Regions from separate parts of the Homo sapiens genome. Here region 1 is linked to region 2. The links are contacts of gene promoters, found by promoter capture Hi-C in blood cells and fetal thymus (Javierre and others, 2016). All regions are on one chromosome and are shown on one strand. Each heading gives the region's core, a stretch centred on a gene start or on the middle of the fragment in contact. The rest is flanking DNA. Distances are from core to core; before and after follow the strand shown. Region 1 overlaps FADS2 (fatty acid desaturase 2). Region 2 holds the start of BEST1 (bestrophin 1).

Region 1 (6,652 bases), core at 1-2,500, 98 kb before region 2:
ATCAGCATCTGCCAAGTGAGGCCAATTTTCCCTCACTAAGGAGTGGCACCGTGAGTGAAGTAGTATTCCCGACAGCCTTGGCGCCTAAGGCTTGGAACAAGGCGAGGAGACAGCCTGGCTCCCCAGTTCTGGTTTGTACACCCTCTTCTTATTTCATTTCCACCCGTGAGACTATCTGAGCAGGAACGTGGATTTTTCTGTAACATGGCCAATTCGCAGGAAATCAGCCACAGTTCTGTACTTTGGAAGCCTCTCTAAGCTGCCAGGGATTCCATTTTCTGCCAAAGTACAGGCTATTGTTATTCTTCTAGGAAACAGTTTGCCAGCTTTAATTAGAGGTGTCTAGAAAACAGAACTGATGAACTTGAGGCCCTCTGATAAGTGGGGACAAAGGCTTCATTTTCTCGGCGAGGCTTTGTAATGTAGAGCCGTTGGCTGTCCTGACAGATGTTCTCTGTGTCTCCAACAAAGAAAGTCTAGTCCCACCAGCTGCACTGGCAAGAAGGCGTCTTTCTTGTGCGTGGTGGCCAGAGAAGCCTCTCCTTTCCCGACATCTTCTCACCCCCGACACTTCTGGAACGCTGGCTTTGGGGCAGGAGATAGGGGTGGGAGGCTGTGAGGATCTGGTTGTTCAGTTACCAGCGGCGTTTGGAAGTCCCCAGCCAGTGCCGCGGTGTTCTGTGGAAATCCCCGCTCTCACACTCATGGGGAAAGGATTGGTGCTTCCTGGGTTCCTGGTGTTTTGACCTGTGCTCTGGCTCTCGCAGGACCCGGCCGCCCTGGAAGGAACCCTGGTCTCTTGACTGAAGTGACAGTGGGTCTGATGGGACTTGTCACATGCCAGTCCCACACACCACAGCAGGGCCAGGTGGGGCGGCCAGGTCCCAGGGCCTCAAGCCACCATCCCAGTCTCCAGAGCAAGGATGCCGGCCAGGGCTTCTATCTCTGGGGACAGATAAGCAAAGCAGCCCTGCCAAGCGGCTCCCAGCACGTGGAACTGTGAATAGCGCGGGCTCCGCAGTAAAGCCCTTTTCCTCGTTTTCTGCATTTTGGTCTTATTGATGCTGTCCAGGAGGATTCTTTTTGTCATATGTAGCAAAGTATATTCACTTTACCCAGAGATTCATTTCTTGTGTGCTTAGAAAGTTCTTCATACATATTATTTTCAGTTCTTTAAGGTTTTGTGTTTCAATCTTTAACTTCTGCCAAATGGGATATGGGTAGGATGATGTTCGGCCTTCACTTTTCTCCAGAGTCGGCCAGTTTTCCCGGCACCCCCATGAGGTGGCATTGCTTCTTCATATGAGGCAGTGAGTGCTCCTGAGCCCGGGCTTGGCCTGGGCTGGGCTGTCTGTCCTCTCCCAGGCCACCGTCTGGATGACTTGGGGGCCACACTCACACTCATTCATCCTTGGCACTTAACTCATTGGAAGCTCGTAGTGGGGTGCCTTTCCCCTTCTCTTTCTCTCTCTTTTTGTTTTTGTTTTTGTTTTTGAGACAAGGTCATGCTCTGTCACCTTGGCTAGAGCGTAGTGGCGCAATCTCGGTTCACTGCAGCCTCAACCTCCTGGGCTCAAGCCATCGTTCTGCCTCAGCCTCCCGAGTAGCTGGGACTACAGGCACCCGCCACCATGCCCGGCTAATTCTTGTATTTTTAGTAGAGATGGGGTTTCACCATGTTGGCCAGGCTGGTCTCGAACTCCTGACCTCAAGTGATCCGCCTACCTCAGCTTCCCAAAGTGCTGGGATTACAGGCATGAGCCACTGTGCCCGGCCAAGGTCTGTACTTCTTTATATGTCTCATGGATGTTTCTTTTAAAACGCAATCCTTATATGTTTTATATTTTGTCATTATGATTGGAGGTTCTCCAGTACTCGGGAAAGCAGTGGATATTGGGGTAGTTATCTTAATTTTCTTTTTTTTCTAAATTTTTGTTTGCATGGCCTTCCAATGAATGGGATAGTTATCTTTTGTCCCGCTAGTGTCCACTTACGTCTCTTCGTAATTCTAGTTGTGTTTCGGTTGATTCTTTTGAGTTTCCTGGGTAGATGATCATATCCTAGAAAATAATGAAAACGTAGTCTCTCGGCCCAGCGTGGTGGCTCACATCTGTAATCCCAGCACTTTGGGAGGCCGAGGCTGGCGGATCACGAGGTCAGGAGATCGAGACCATCTTGGCTAACACAATGAAACCACCGTCTCTACTAAAAATACAAAAAATTAGCTGGGCATGGTGGCACACGCCTGTAGTCTCGGCTACTCTGGAGGCTGAGGCAAGAGAATCGCTTGAACCTGGGAGGCGGAGGTTGCAGTGAGCTGAGATAGCACCACTGCACTCCAGCCTGGGCGACAGAGTGAGACTCCGTCTCAAAACAACAACAACAACAACAACAACAAAACAAAACAAAACAAACAGAAAAAAAGTGTAGTCACTCTTTCTTTCTTCTCTTTCTTTCTTTCTCTCTCTCTTTCTTTCTCTCCCTCCCTCCCTTCCCTCCCTCCCTCCCTTCCTTCCTTCCTTCCTTCCTTCCTTCCTTCCTTCCTTCCTTTCCTTCTTTCTTTCTAATCTGGATGTTGAAGTAGTCTCTTTCTTTCTAATAGCTCCACTCTGTTTTCTGCTTTGGGTTTTATTGCATTGACGGGAAATTTCAGAGCTGAGTTTAATAGCGGTGATATTGGCAGCAGCCTTGTTTTGTTCTTCTTTTGCCATATCCCCGTTTTCTGAGGGGGCTGGTGAGACCATTATCCCGGTAGCAGTGTAAAGGGGCCTCAGAAGCCGTGCGGTGCCTGAGATCCTCCTCCTCCTCCCATCCGGGAAACCACCTCTGCTGCTCTGACTGTCTGAAGCTAACCTCCTGGGCTTCCTGCTTGAGGCAGACCTTCATGAACAGGCTTAAGCCACCCATCCCGCCTTGGGACACACATGCCGCCCTCTCGGGGACCTTGGACTGGGACCTTGCCATTCTGCTCCTGCTGGGGAGGTCGTGCCGCCTGTTTCTCTCTGTGTGTGAGTTTGCAGGTTCCCAGAGGCAGAGACTGGGCTTTGCGACAGCTCCCCTCCCCCAACCCTCGATGGACAAGGAGGGCCCTTGTCATTCCTCAGACATTTTGTTCCAAAGCTGAAAGGTCCCCTCCACATGGCCCGGCATCCCCCAGGCCCTCATCCAAGCCTGGCCTTGAGGTGCATGGAGAGGCCGAGGACAGGAGAGTCAGCCCCGCCGCCAGGGCTGGCTGCACTCCCTCCCTTGCCCCTGGCCTGCGTCTCTGCCTGTCAACCGCAGCCTGGGAAGGCACTGTTGCTGATCAGGGGGAGGTCCATGTGTGCCACCCACACCCTTGGCCGCAGCCCAGCCAGGTGAAAGTCATGTGTCTTCCTTGCCTCTTGGGCTTTCTCTGTGTGTGTGACGGGGACTCCTCTGGAGGAGGAGATGTGTGGGGTCCTCCACTCCCCACACTTGGGGCTCTGAGCCCCCAGTTGGGAAGAAGCCTGACTCTTGTTGAGTGAGTCTGTGGACCGGGCACTGTGATGGGCAGTGTGCGTGCACAACGTCACTTAATCCTTGCTTAACCCGTGAGGCGGGAGCTGTCATCGACCCATTTCATGGATGGAACAGCTAAGGCCAAGAGACATGAAGTGACTTGTTCAAGGTAACAGCAAGGAAAAGGCAACACCACTGTCCGAACCCAAACCATCTGGCTGCAAACCACAGCTTCGGAGTCCTGGGGGCCCTTGTGAAATATGTTTGTTGGGTAGCCCCAGCTTTCTGATCAATTAAACAGCCAGGCACTCACCCCCCTAGCTTGCTACATTCTAAAATACCTCTCCCTCCCTTCCCTGGTCCCATGACTTAAACGGCAAAGCTCTGGCAAAGAACTGAGCGTGGGAAAGATGAGAGCAGAGAGTTAGCCACAGGGCAGGGCTTCGTATCCCAAACCCACAGTTGTACTTTCTGGTTTGGGAGGGGAGTATTGGCCATCCCCCAGCAGAGCCGCTGCAGCTGAGGCCATCGAGATGGGCACAGATGTGTAGTGGTATGTCACCATACGCATGTACATACACGTGCGTGACTGTGATGAGCATTTTGCTCACCGTCCCACAGAGGCCCACTCTGAGGCCTGCTGCTGCCTGGCAAGCAGGACCCCCTGGCTCCCGAGGGTCATTCTGGGGCATTGAAGGGACGCACACTAAAGCCAGCAGTGCTTACCAGCAGAGGCAGCCCCTGTAACCTGTGTTGTCCACCCACAGGCCACCATCACCCATGAGAACAGGGTGCCTACTGTGCACATGCAGCTCCAAACAGACTCCCCAGGTGCCTCCCAGGCCCCCACAACAGCGTGGCCAGCCCTCAGTCCCTCCATAGGATGCCCTGGCCCCTGCTGACCTGCCTGGGTTGCCCTCTGTGCTCACTTCCGAGTACAGCCGGCCCAGCCCGAGAGGGATGGGATGCTCTGTGGGACAGAGATGCGGTGGGGAGGAGCTCTTGAGCAGAGCTGGAGACACTGCATGCCAAGGCTGGGGCTATGAGCCTGCTCCCTGGCCTCTGGGAGAAGCTTAGAGCAGGACTCAGGGGCCTGTTCTGTGGGCCACTGCAGGCCCCGAGACTGGCCACCTCGAGAGCAACGTCTGCAGTGCTGGCTCCTCCAGCAACTCCGTCCACTGGAGACTCATGAAAGGCTCCTGTGAGGCCTCCCTGGCTCGGACCTCTCCATGGCCGGCCTCAGCCCTGGCCTTAATAATAGTCTTCCTGCAAGTGGCCGTCCTTTCTGGGAATGAGTGAGATCCTTGCCAAGGCTCAGGAGGCCACACAGAACAAAGGGACTGTTTCTGGGGGTTCTTCAGCTGGTTGTGCCGTGACCATGGCCATTGGCGCCAAGATGCAAGCCTTGGGGACAGGGTGGACCTGGTTCCCACCCACAGCCTCTTCCCTCAGGAATCCATGCTCTCCCTGTGATTTGGACAATCATTTTACTCACCTGGATGAGAGGGGCACTGGCCTAGGCATCATCCAAGGTCCCTTCCCTCTGTAACTCACTTTGACCTCCTGACTGCAATAAGTATGACTGGACACTATAGGAGGAGGCATCTCTGGCCTTCGGATCCAGGGGTATAGGGAGGGTGACGGGCAGTGTCCTGGGGTCAGCACTTGGCATTATGCCCATGTTCTCATTGGCTCCTCTTACCAACCACTGATTCAAATGCCAGACAAGGCTCAGCAAGGCTAAGCGACTCACATAGTCTCAGCACTGGTGAGAGGCAGAGTCGGCTCAAGCGCATCTGCTGGCTGCAAGCCCAGCCTCCCCACACTGCAAGGGAGAGGAGCAGGTGTCACTCAGTGAGCGGCATCTTTTGGTCTCAGTCCTGGAAGTGCAGGGTGGGCTGGTCCCTAGGGGCTGGACCATGGAATTAAGGGCTCCAGGGATCCCCTGGGGCCGTGGTTCCTATGCCTGGCATTGGACAATGACGATGCCCAGGACCCAGCCCAGCCCTCCTCCATTAGAGCCTCTGGGCATCAGGCTGCCCAAGGTGCAGGCTCTGATGGGGAAGAAACCGGTGCCGTCATGGGGACCTCAGGTAGCCAGATGTGGCCTGAGGAGTCTGTGCTGTGGCCTCCTCTGTCCTCAAGGTTAGGCTCCAGCTGGGGAGGAGTGATTCACTCTTGTAAATTACAGGGAGGCTCCAGGGAGGCAGATGCTCCCAGCCTGATGACTGGCAGCAATTCTGGGGCCCTTACCTAGGTTCTCCCTGCCACTGCGGGCTCCGGGAGCTCTCCATGGTGACCTAGGAACTCCCCTGGGTGCTTATGCTCCGCCGAGAGTTGCTCTGTTGCACATTCATTCAACAAACATTTGTTTAGTGCCTGTCACATGGGCTCAGAGTCAGCTTTTTGGGTTCTGATCCCAGTCAGGGCCACTTCCTGTGGCCTTGGGCCATGGCTTAACGCTGAGCCTCAGCCTCAGAAGTGCCGGCCTTGTAGAGGATCGATGCCATCGGGCCAGTGCTCGGCTAGGGCTGAGGAAGCGTTGGCCGCTGCTGGCTGTAGCATGGGGAGCCCAGAGGGCTGGAGGGGCCCCAGGCTTGGTGGGCCCAGGGTGCAGATTGACAGGAAAGGGACAGTGGTGTGCCCTGAGCAGATAGAAGGGATGGTGGCTGCAGGATGGGTTGGGGAACATGGGAGGCTGGGAGCTGAGGCTACTGGGTGCTCATGATCTCTCCTCTCTCCTCAGTACGGCAAGAAGAAGCTGAAATACCTGCCCTACAATCACCAGCACGAATACTTCTTCCTGAGTGAGTGCTCGGCGCCCCGAAATCACTCTGGGACCCTCCCCTCCCCCCAGAGTGGCGTGTCTCTCCCTCCTACCTGACATCTTTTTCAGATCCAGAAAGTGACACTAAACTTGTTAGAAGCGGGGGCCACAGCAGCCTTGCTGTGCAGACCCCTCAGCCTGTGTTACAGGCCTGATGGGGACACAGAGGCTCAGAGAGTCCCAGGGGTGACACACGTCCTCAAGGGCTCCCAGCCTTCTCTGCAGGCCCCGGGGTCCCTGGCTGCTTCTGCCCACGTCTGCAGGGCTGGCCCCTGCACTCAGTGCTGGGCCTGGGTTCCCCTGACCTTCCGGCACAGGCAGGGTGGAATGGATGCCTCTAAGCGC
Region 2 (7,412 bases), core at 4,903-7,402:
TCCTTTCCTTCCCTTCCTTCCCTCCTTCCTTCCTTCCTTCCTTCCTTCCTTCCTTCCTTCCTTCCTTCCTTCCCTCCTTTGTTGAGACAGGGTCTTGCTCTGTCACCTAGTCTGGACTGCAGTTCTGAGCTGGTGTGATCATAGCTCACTGCAGCCTCAAACTCCTGGGCTCAAGCAATCATCCGACCTCAGCCTCCCAAAATGTAGGGATTGTATGTGTGAGCCACTGCACCAGGGCAGATTCTGCATTGGTAACAAGCTTCCAAATGATGTAACTGGGCCCCAGACCTCAGTTTGAGAAGCCAGGTTCTAGAAGTCAGCAGCAGGAAGGAATGGACCAATTAAGCAAATCAGCAAAGCAGAGGGACCACAGAAAAAAGGACGATGCTCCCGGGCCCCTCCCCCGGGACATATTTACACTAAAAATTATTCACTTTTCTATCTGAAGTTCTTATTTGCCTGACTGTCCTGTAGTTGTTTTGCCAGGATGTCATCTAATGTTTGTTTTTGTTTTGGACACGGAGTTTCGCTCTTGTCAACCAGGCTGGAGTACAATGGTGCAATCTTGGCTCACTGCAACCTCTGTCTCCCGGGTTCAAGTGATTCTCCTGCCTCAGCCTCCCCGAGTAGCTGGGATTACAGGCATGCGCCACCATGCCTGGCTACTTATCTTTGTATTTTTAGTAGAGACGGGATTTTGCCATGTTGGCCAGGCTGGTCTTGAATTCCTGACCTCCCGTGATTCACCCGCCTCAGCCTCCCAAAGTGCTGGGATTACAGGTAGGAGCCACCACACCTGGCCTGGCCTGTAGTTTTATTGGCTAAGTCTGGTAGCCCTAGCATGGGTGGAGAAGGCTGTAGCTGTGGAAGCCCAGCCAGTCTGCATCTGAGGCAGGGAAAGGCAGCTAAGGCAGCCTGCCGTCAGCCCATTGACCTGACAGATAGGGGCCAATGTGGCTTACTCCTCATCTAGCCTACCCTTGTGCCGTCCTCTCCAACATCCATCCACCTGACAGATGGATGACCCTTCCTCTTCCCCAGGGGTTGTTTTGATGAGTAGATGACATTTCTAAAGAGCGCTTAGTGCACTGCCTGACACCTGGTAAGTGGTCAAGATGGGGAGAACTGATTGTTTCTACTATTCTTTCCCTCTCACAGTGGCCACCGCAGCGCTAAACACGGTCGGTCGGCATTCAGTGCTCGCCGTGGAAGCGAACCGCAGGAGCATCCTGGGGCAGCGGGGAGTTGCTGCACTCACCTAGACAGGCGGCCTACTGTGACTTCAGGCAAGTCATTTTCCTTCTCTGTGCCTCAGTTTCTTTGTCTGCAAAATGAGCAGCTGGACTAGAAACTTACCATTCTTTCACAGCACGTCAAACTCAACATGCCCATTTGAGCTGAAGACACTGAGGCTACTCACTGGGTGTGAACCTTTGACAGCATCCAGGCCCTGCACAGTTGTCTAGGAGAAGCCTGACCCATGATGTCCTTTCCGCTACCCACCTGCCACGAGCCCCAGTTCTGAGCTGGAGGGGTGGGGGTGGGTGGAAGGTGGATAGTGGTCAGTGCCTCACCTGGCCGACTGCAGCCTGGCAGAGTCCATGGGGGACCTCGCAGCACAGTGGATCCTCTTGCCTTGTGTCTCTAGTTGGTCCAGCTCTGGTCTATTCCATGCTATTCCGTTGTCATGGGCAGGACTGGGTTTGATGAAGTTGGACCTAGGTGTATCCCAGCCTCTCCTGGTTTCTGTCGTCTTTCTGTGGTGCCCAGGGCTTATGTTTCTATCTCTTTGAATGTTGAGTTTACTCCGTCCTTCAGGGATCAGGGCTGCCTGAGCTCAGGGTGGAGGTGCTGTTGTCTGTCTGGCTTCCGGGCCCTGGACTGGCAGTGTCCCCCAGCACCCCTGTCCAGCTATGCCAAGCCCCCTCCTTTTCTTTCTTGGCCTCTGCCCTATTTGTTCTGTGACTGGCCCAAGAGAGGGGTGTGGGCTGGCAGGTGTCCCACATAAAGCCTGGAGGCAGCATCCAGGCCTGGCTGACTTACCCCGGGGCCCCCTGCCTACTGCCCCCAGCCAAGCTGGGTCTCCTTCTTCCTGCCCAGCTGAGGCAGGGCCTAGAAGGGCACCGAGGCAGGCCCTCTGTGATGCTCCTGTTGCTATGGTAATTCTAGATGAGAAGGCCATAGCATTCTGTGTCTGGCACCCCCGCGCATCTCCCCAGCTCTGCCCTGCTGCCCCAAGAGATGGCTCTCTGCTGGGGAGCTCGAGAGCTTGGAATCTGCTGCAGTCAAAGTTTCTTCCATGCGGCCAGGCACAGTGGCTCATGCCTGCAATCCTAGCACTTTGGGAGGCCGAGGCGGGTGAATTACTTGAGGTCAGGAGTTCAAGACCAACCTGGCCAACATGGTGAAACCCCATCTCTACTAAAAATACAATACTTAGCCGGAAATCACTTGAACCCAGGAGGCAGATGTTGCAGTGAGCCAAGATCATGCCACTGCACTCCAGCCTGGGTAACAAAGCGAGACTCCGTCTCAAAAAAAAAAAAAAAGTATCTTTCATGCAGGCCCCATCCTTTGGACCTCCCTTCAACCCCAAGAGAGACCACTACCCTAGCAGGTAAGACTCTACCTCTCAGAAACTGACCTTTACTGTAGAGCTGATAGTGGGAAAGGGCTCAGGATCCAAAATCAAAAGACCTAGATCCTAGTCTCAAGCCATTTATAGCTGTGTGACCTTGGACAAGGCAGGCCTTGAGCTTCAGTGTCCTCCTTTGTAAAATGTGGATAAACATGCGATACTGAATCATCCTTCAGGAATAGCTCTATGACTTTCCGTAGGTTGTTCCCCTGATGTGTAATGCTCTTCCATTCTTCTCAGCTCCATGAACTCCTACTCATGCTTCAAGACCCAACCGAAATGCCCCATTGTCTGTAAAAATTTCCCTGACCTCTGTGCACTTGGCACAGATCTTAGGCCTTGCCATTCTGTGTTAGAGTTGTTATTTAAGTGTTTCCAAATTTTTTGACTATGAATACGTACAGGCAGGAATCAGATTAGGCTCAGTTCTGGAAGGAGAAATGGTTTGGCGAATATTTTCTTTGCGGAACGGAAAGCAGAAGAGGGCGACCTTGACTGGGTTGGGTGCCATCTCTGCAGGGGTCAATCCTGGGACTCTTGTTCCAGGCATGGCTTGGGTCAATCAGCACTCATGACTTTGCTGTGTGCCTGAGCCGTGCCTGGCTAACTGGGGACATTTTCATAGCTGAGACCCAGTAGGAGAGACCATGACTTGTGCCAGGGTGTGCCTGTCTCAGCTCTGGGGCAGGGCCAGGAGCAGCTGCTCATGGGATGTCTCTGGGGACATGCTGGGGCCTCTGGGAGGGGAAGGGAGACTGGCCATGCACTGTCTATGGTCCTGGTGGTACTCCTGGGATATTGCCAAGGAGCCTGCGGTTCAGGGAACAGGGAGGAGGGACTCTAGTGTCTCCAACTCCCTCTCATGGCTCTATGGCTGCTGGTCGGGGTCAGGGAGATGAAGCAGTGCCAGCTCCGTGGTCTGCACTGATCCTGACCAGTGAACCAGGCTTCCCCAGCCAGAGCCAGCTAGTCAAGCACGCTCTCTAGTGGCCACCACAGGGAAGGCAAGAACTTGTCTCCACAAAGGCAGGATTTTCATTTATTCCTTCAGAGAGTACAGAATGAGCATCAATGTTCCAGGCATGGTGCCAGGCATGTGTGTTAACTTTAGTTAAAACATACTTATTGGCCGAGTGTGGCGGCTCACTCCTGTAATCCCACCACTTTGGGAGGCCTAGGTGGGAGGACTGCTTGAACTTAGAGCTCAATACCAGCCTGGGTAATGTAGTGAGACCCTATCTCTATAAAAAAAAAAAAAATAGCTGGGTGTGGTGGTGTGCGTCTGTAGTCCCAGCGACTTGGGAGGCTGAGATGGGAGGATTGCTTGAGCCTGGGAAGTGGAGGTTGCAATGAGCCAAAATCACACCCATTGCACTCCAGCCTGGGTGACCTTGTCTCAAAAATATAGTTATATATTTACTTATATATTTATATGTATAAATATATGTGTACATACAAATATATTTGTAATATTATAGACATATTAATACATATTTACATATGTTAATATATAAATATATATAATATATATTTATCATCTTCTAAATGGAAAGCTCTTGAGTTTCAGGATGTGTTGGTTGGGAAGGGAATACAGGATAGGGAAATAATCCATTAAGCAATGACTCAGCACAGGCCATAAAATCAGAATCACCTGGAGAACTTGAACAATCCCAACACCTGGGGTCCATCCAGACCAATCAAATCAGAATTCGTAGGGGTCAGGCACAGGCACCAGTGGTTTGGAGAGTTGACGGACACATGTCCCATCCATCATTCTCATTCGGCTGCCAAGGTAGGCATCGTTGTCCCATTTTGCATATGAGGAGACTGAGGCTGAAGTGAACCTGCTTCTTTCCCCATATCAGTTGAGGACAGCGATGGGGCAGCGGGGAGGCAGTAAATACTCCTACAAGGCTGCCTCTAAAGAGAGTCTTATAATAACAACAGCTTTATTGTTTGCCATGATTAGAAAAGTATTCAAGGTCATTGCGAAATAGTGTTTTTTTTTCTAGGCAGATAATTATATAAAGGCAAAAATGGTGTGTGGGGGTGGGGGACAAGGGGAGGGAGAGCATTAGGACAAATACCTAATGCACGCAAGGCTTAAAACCTAGATGATGGGTTGACAGGTGCAGCAAACCACCATGGCACACGTATACCTATGTAACAAACCTGCACATCATGTATACCTATGTAACAAACCTGTACATTCTGCACACGTATCCCAGAACTTAAAGTGAAAAAAAAAGTGGTGTGTAGAAAAATCACCTGCAATCTCAGCATAGTTAACGCTTAGTACATTTCAGAGAGAGAGGGTGACAGGAAAGGGAGGATGAGAGTGGGTTTAAGACACAAGGTCATATTATAAAATCAGGGCTTCTGGAAGTTTAGTCCCAAAACCACACATCTCATAATCCCCTGCAGTGCTTGATTAAAATGCAACATCCCTAAGGCCACAGACTCAGACTCTGGAGAAAGATCCAGAAAACTGCCCGTTTAATAAACATTTGGGCGATTCTTACGGCCTCTAAAGACCAAGAACCACTGCTGCCTAGAGCTCTGCTCTCTTCATTGAACAATACAAGAGGAGTGTGTAGGTAGACACCCACCACTTCCAACAGCTTAGGAGAGCCCTTGAGTATGGATTGATGTATTAAAATTTATTGAATCACATGCTGAGATTTTCACCAGCTGCCCGTGGGGATCTGGGCATTTATTCCCATATTGCACTGGCTGGCTGGAAGCCAGCAGCATAAACTCCAGGGCTGTTCTGTCAACCCCCACCAGACTCACCCCCCTCCACCAGCCCCGGCAGGCTTCTCCTTCCATCTCTCTGAAGCAACTTACTGATGGGCCCTGCCAGCCAATCACAGCCAGAATAACGTATGATGTCACCAGCAGCCAATCAGAGCTCCTCGTCAGCATATGCAGAATTCTGTCATTTTACTAGGGTGATGAAATTCCCAAGCAACACCATCCTTTTCAGATAAGGGCACTGAGGCTGAGAGAGGAGCTGAAACCTACCCGGGGTCACCACACACAGGTGGCAAGGCTGGGACCAGAAACCAGGACTGTTGACTGCAGCCCGGTATTCATTCTTTCCATAGCCCACAGGGCTGTCAAAGACCCCAGGGCCTAGTCAGAGGCTCCTCCTTCCTGGAGAGTTCCTGGCACAGAAGTTGAAGCTCAGCACAGCCCCCTAACCCCCAACTCTCTCTGCAAGGCCTCAGGGGTCAGAACACTGGTGGAGCAGATCCTTTAGCCTCTGGATTTTAGGGCCATGGTAGAGGGGGTGTTGCCCTAAATTCCAGCCCTGGTCTCAGCCCAACACCCTCCAAGAAGAAATTAGAGGGGCCATGGCCAGGCTGTGCTAGCCGTTGCTTCTGAGCAGATTACAAGAAGGGACTAAGACAAGGACTCCTTTGTGGAGGTCCTGGCTTAGGGAGTCAAGTGACGGCGGCTCAGCACTCACGTGGGCAGTGCCAGCCTCTAAGAGTGGGCAGGGGCACTGGCCACAGAGTCCCAGGGAGTCCCACCAGCCTAGTCGCCAGACCTTCTGTGGGATCATCGGACCCACCTGGAACCCCACCTGTGAGTACAAGGTGCCCCAGGTGGACTGGGCTGGGGCTTTGAGGCCTTCAGGGTTGGATGGCCATCTTGCGTATTTGTGTGGGATATGCACACACAGGCAGCACATGCGCAGGTGTGTGGGCACCTGTGTGTCTGTGCAAATGCCCTGAGGTGGGAATGAGCTTGGTGTGCATCAGGCACAGCCAGCCAGTGTGGCTGCAGCAAAACACACAGGGAAAGAATGGAGGGGGCATCAATCACTGCTTCAGTAAATTTTTATTGAGCGCCTTCTACGAGAACACAAGAGGAGCTTCCATTCTGAGGAGGAAACAGGCAGGAAACAGGCAGATATCCTGTATAATTTCAAGTAGTGATAAGTGCTCTCTAGAAATATCAAGCAAGGTGAGGAGACACAGAGCACCGGTGGCAGTGGGGCTCTATTTCCAGGTTGGATGGTTGGGAACATCCTTTCTAAAGGGAACCTGGAGTGGGAAGGAACCATGCAGGTATCTCAGGAAGAGCTTCCTCCAGGCAGGAAGATCAGCAGGTGGAAAGGCCCTGGAGCCACCATTCAGTAAACATCATTTGAGCATCTCTACCAGCTAGGTTCCATTATGGGAATGGGAATATGGTGGTGGACAGGGCTGCCTGGTCCCTTCCATACTTCTCACACTAGGGTGGTTGAGAGAGCTTGGGAGCTAACGAACAAGATGGGCTGAGAACACTGCCTAGCCCAGAGGACCTGAGCTTAGTGTGTAGACATTGCTGCTGTTACTGCCTTTGTCATTGTATTATTTATTTATTTATTTATTTATTTTTAGACAGAGTTTTGCTCTTCTTACCCAGGCTGGAGTGCAATGGCGTGATCTCAGCTCACTGCAACCTCCACCTCCTGGGTTCAAGCGATTCTCCTGCCTCAGCCTCCTGAGTAGCTGGGATTACAGGCACCCGCACCACGCCTGGATAATTTTTTTGTATTTTTAGTAGAGACAGGGTTTCACCATGTTGGCCAGGCTGGTCTCGAACTCCTGACCTTAGGTGATCCACCTGCCTCGACTTCCCAAAGTGCTGGGATTATAGGCATGAGCCACTGCGCCCAGTGATTATAGAAAGTTAAAGGCACATGGCAATGCACACGCCTATCTACGTCTTCCCTGCCAAAGCAAAGGGCAGCCTCTGGGCTCACTTTCTTGCGTTTCTACTT

The links. The method cuts DNA at HindIII sites, captures the fragments that hold promoters and counts their contacts. A CHiCAGO score of 5 or more calls a contact.
Region 1: a fragment that was not itself captured here is called in contact with the fragment with the promoter of BEST1 in region 2 in 1 of 17 cell types (neutrophils); the score reaches 5.6 in neutrophils.

Annotation. Positions count from the first base shown.
Region 1 is chr11:61,850,785-61,857,436 of GRCh38, forward strand. It overlaps FADS2 (fatty acid desaturase 2), which reads left to right. Exons shown (of 12, transcript NM_004265.4): 6 at 6,227-6,287. Among named protein-coding and RNA genes, the nearest start is that of MIR6746, 24 kb to the right of the region's middle. RefSeq lists an enhancer at 6,209-6,652. The HindIII fragment of the contact is 6,600 bases long and covers 1-4,550 here.
Region 2 is chr11:61,944,199-61,951,610 of GRCh38, forward strand. BEST1 (bestrophin 1) reads left to right here and starts at 6,153. Exons shown (of 11, transcript NM_004183.4): 1 at 6,153-6,229. It also overlaps a transcript of RAB3IL1 not described here. RefSeq lists a silencer at 1,851-2,014. The HindIII fragment of the contact is 17,311 bases long and covers 258-7,412 here.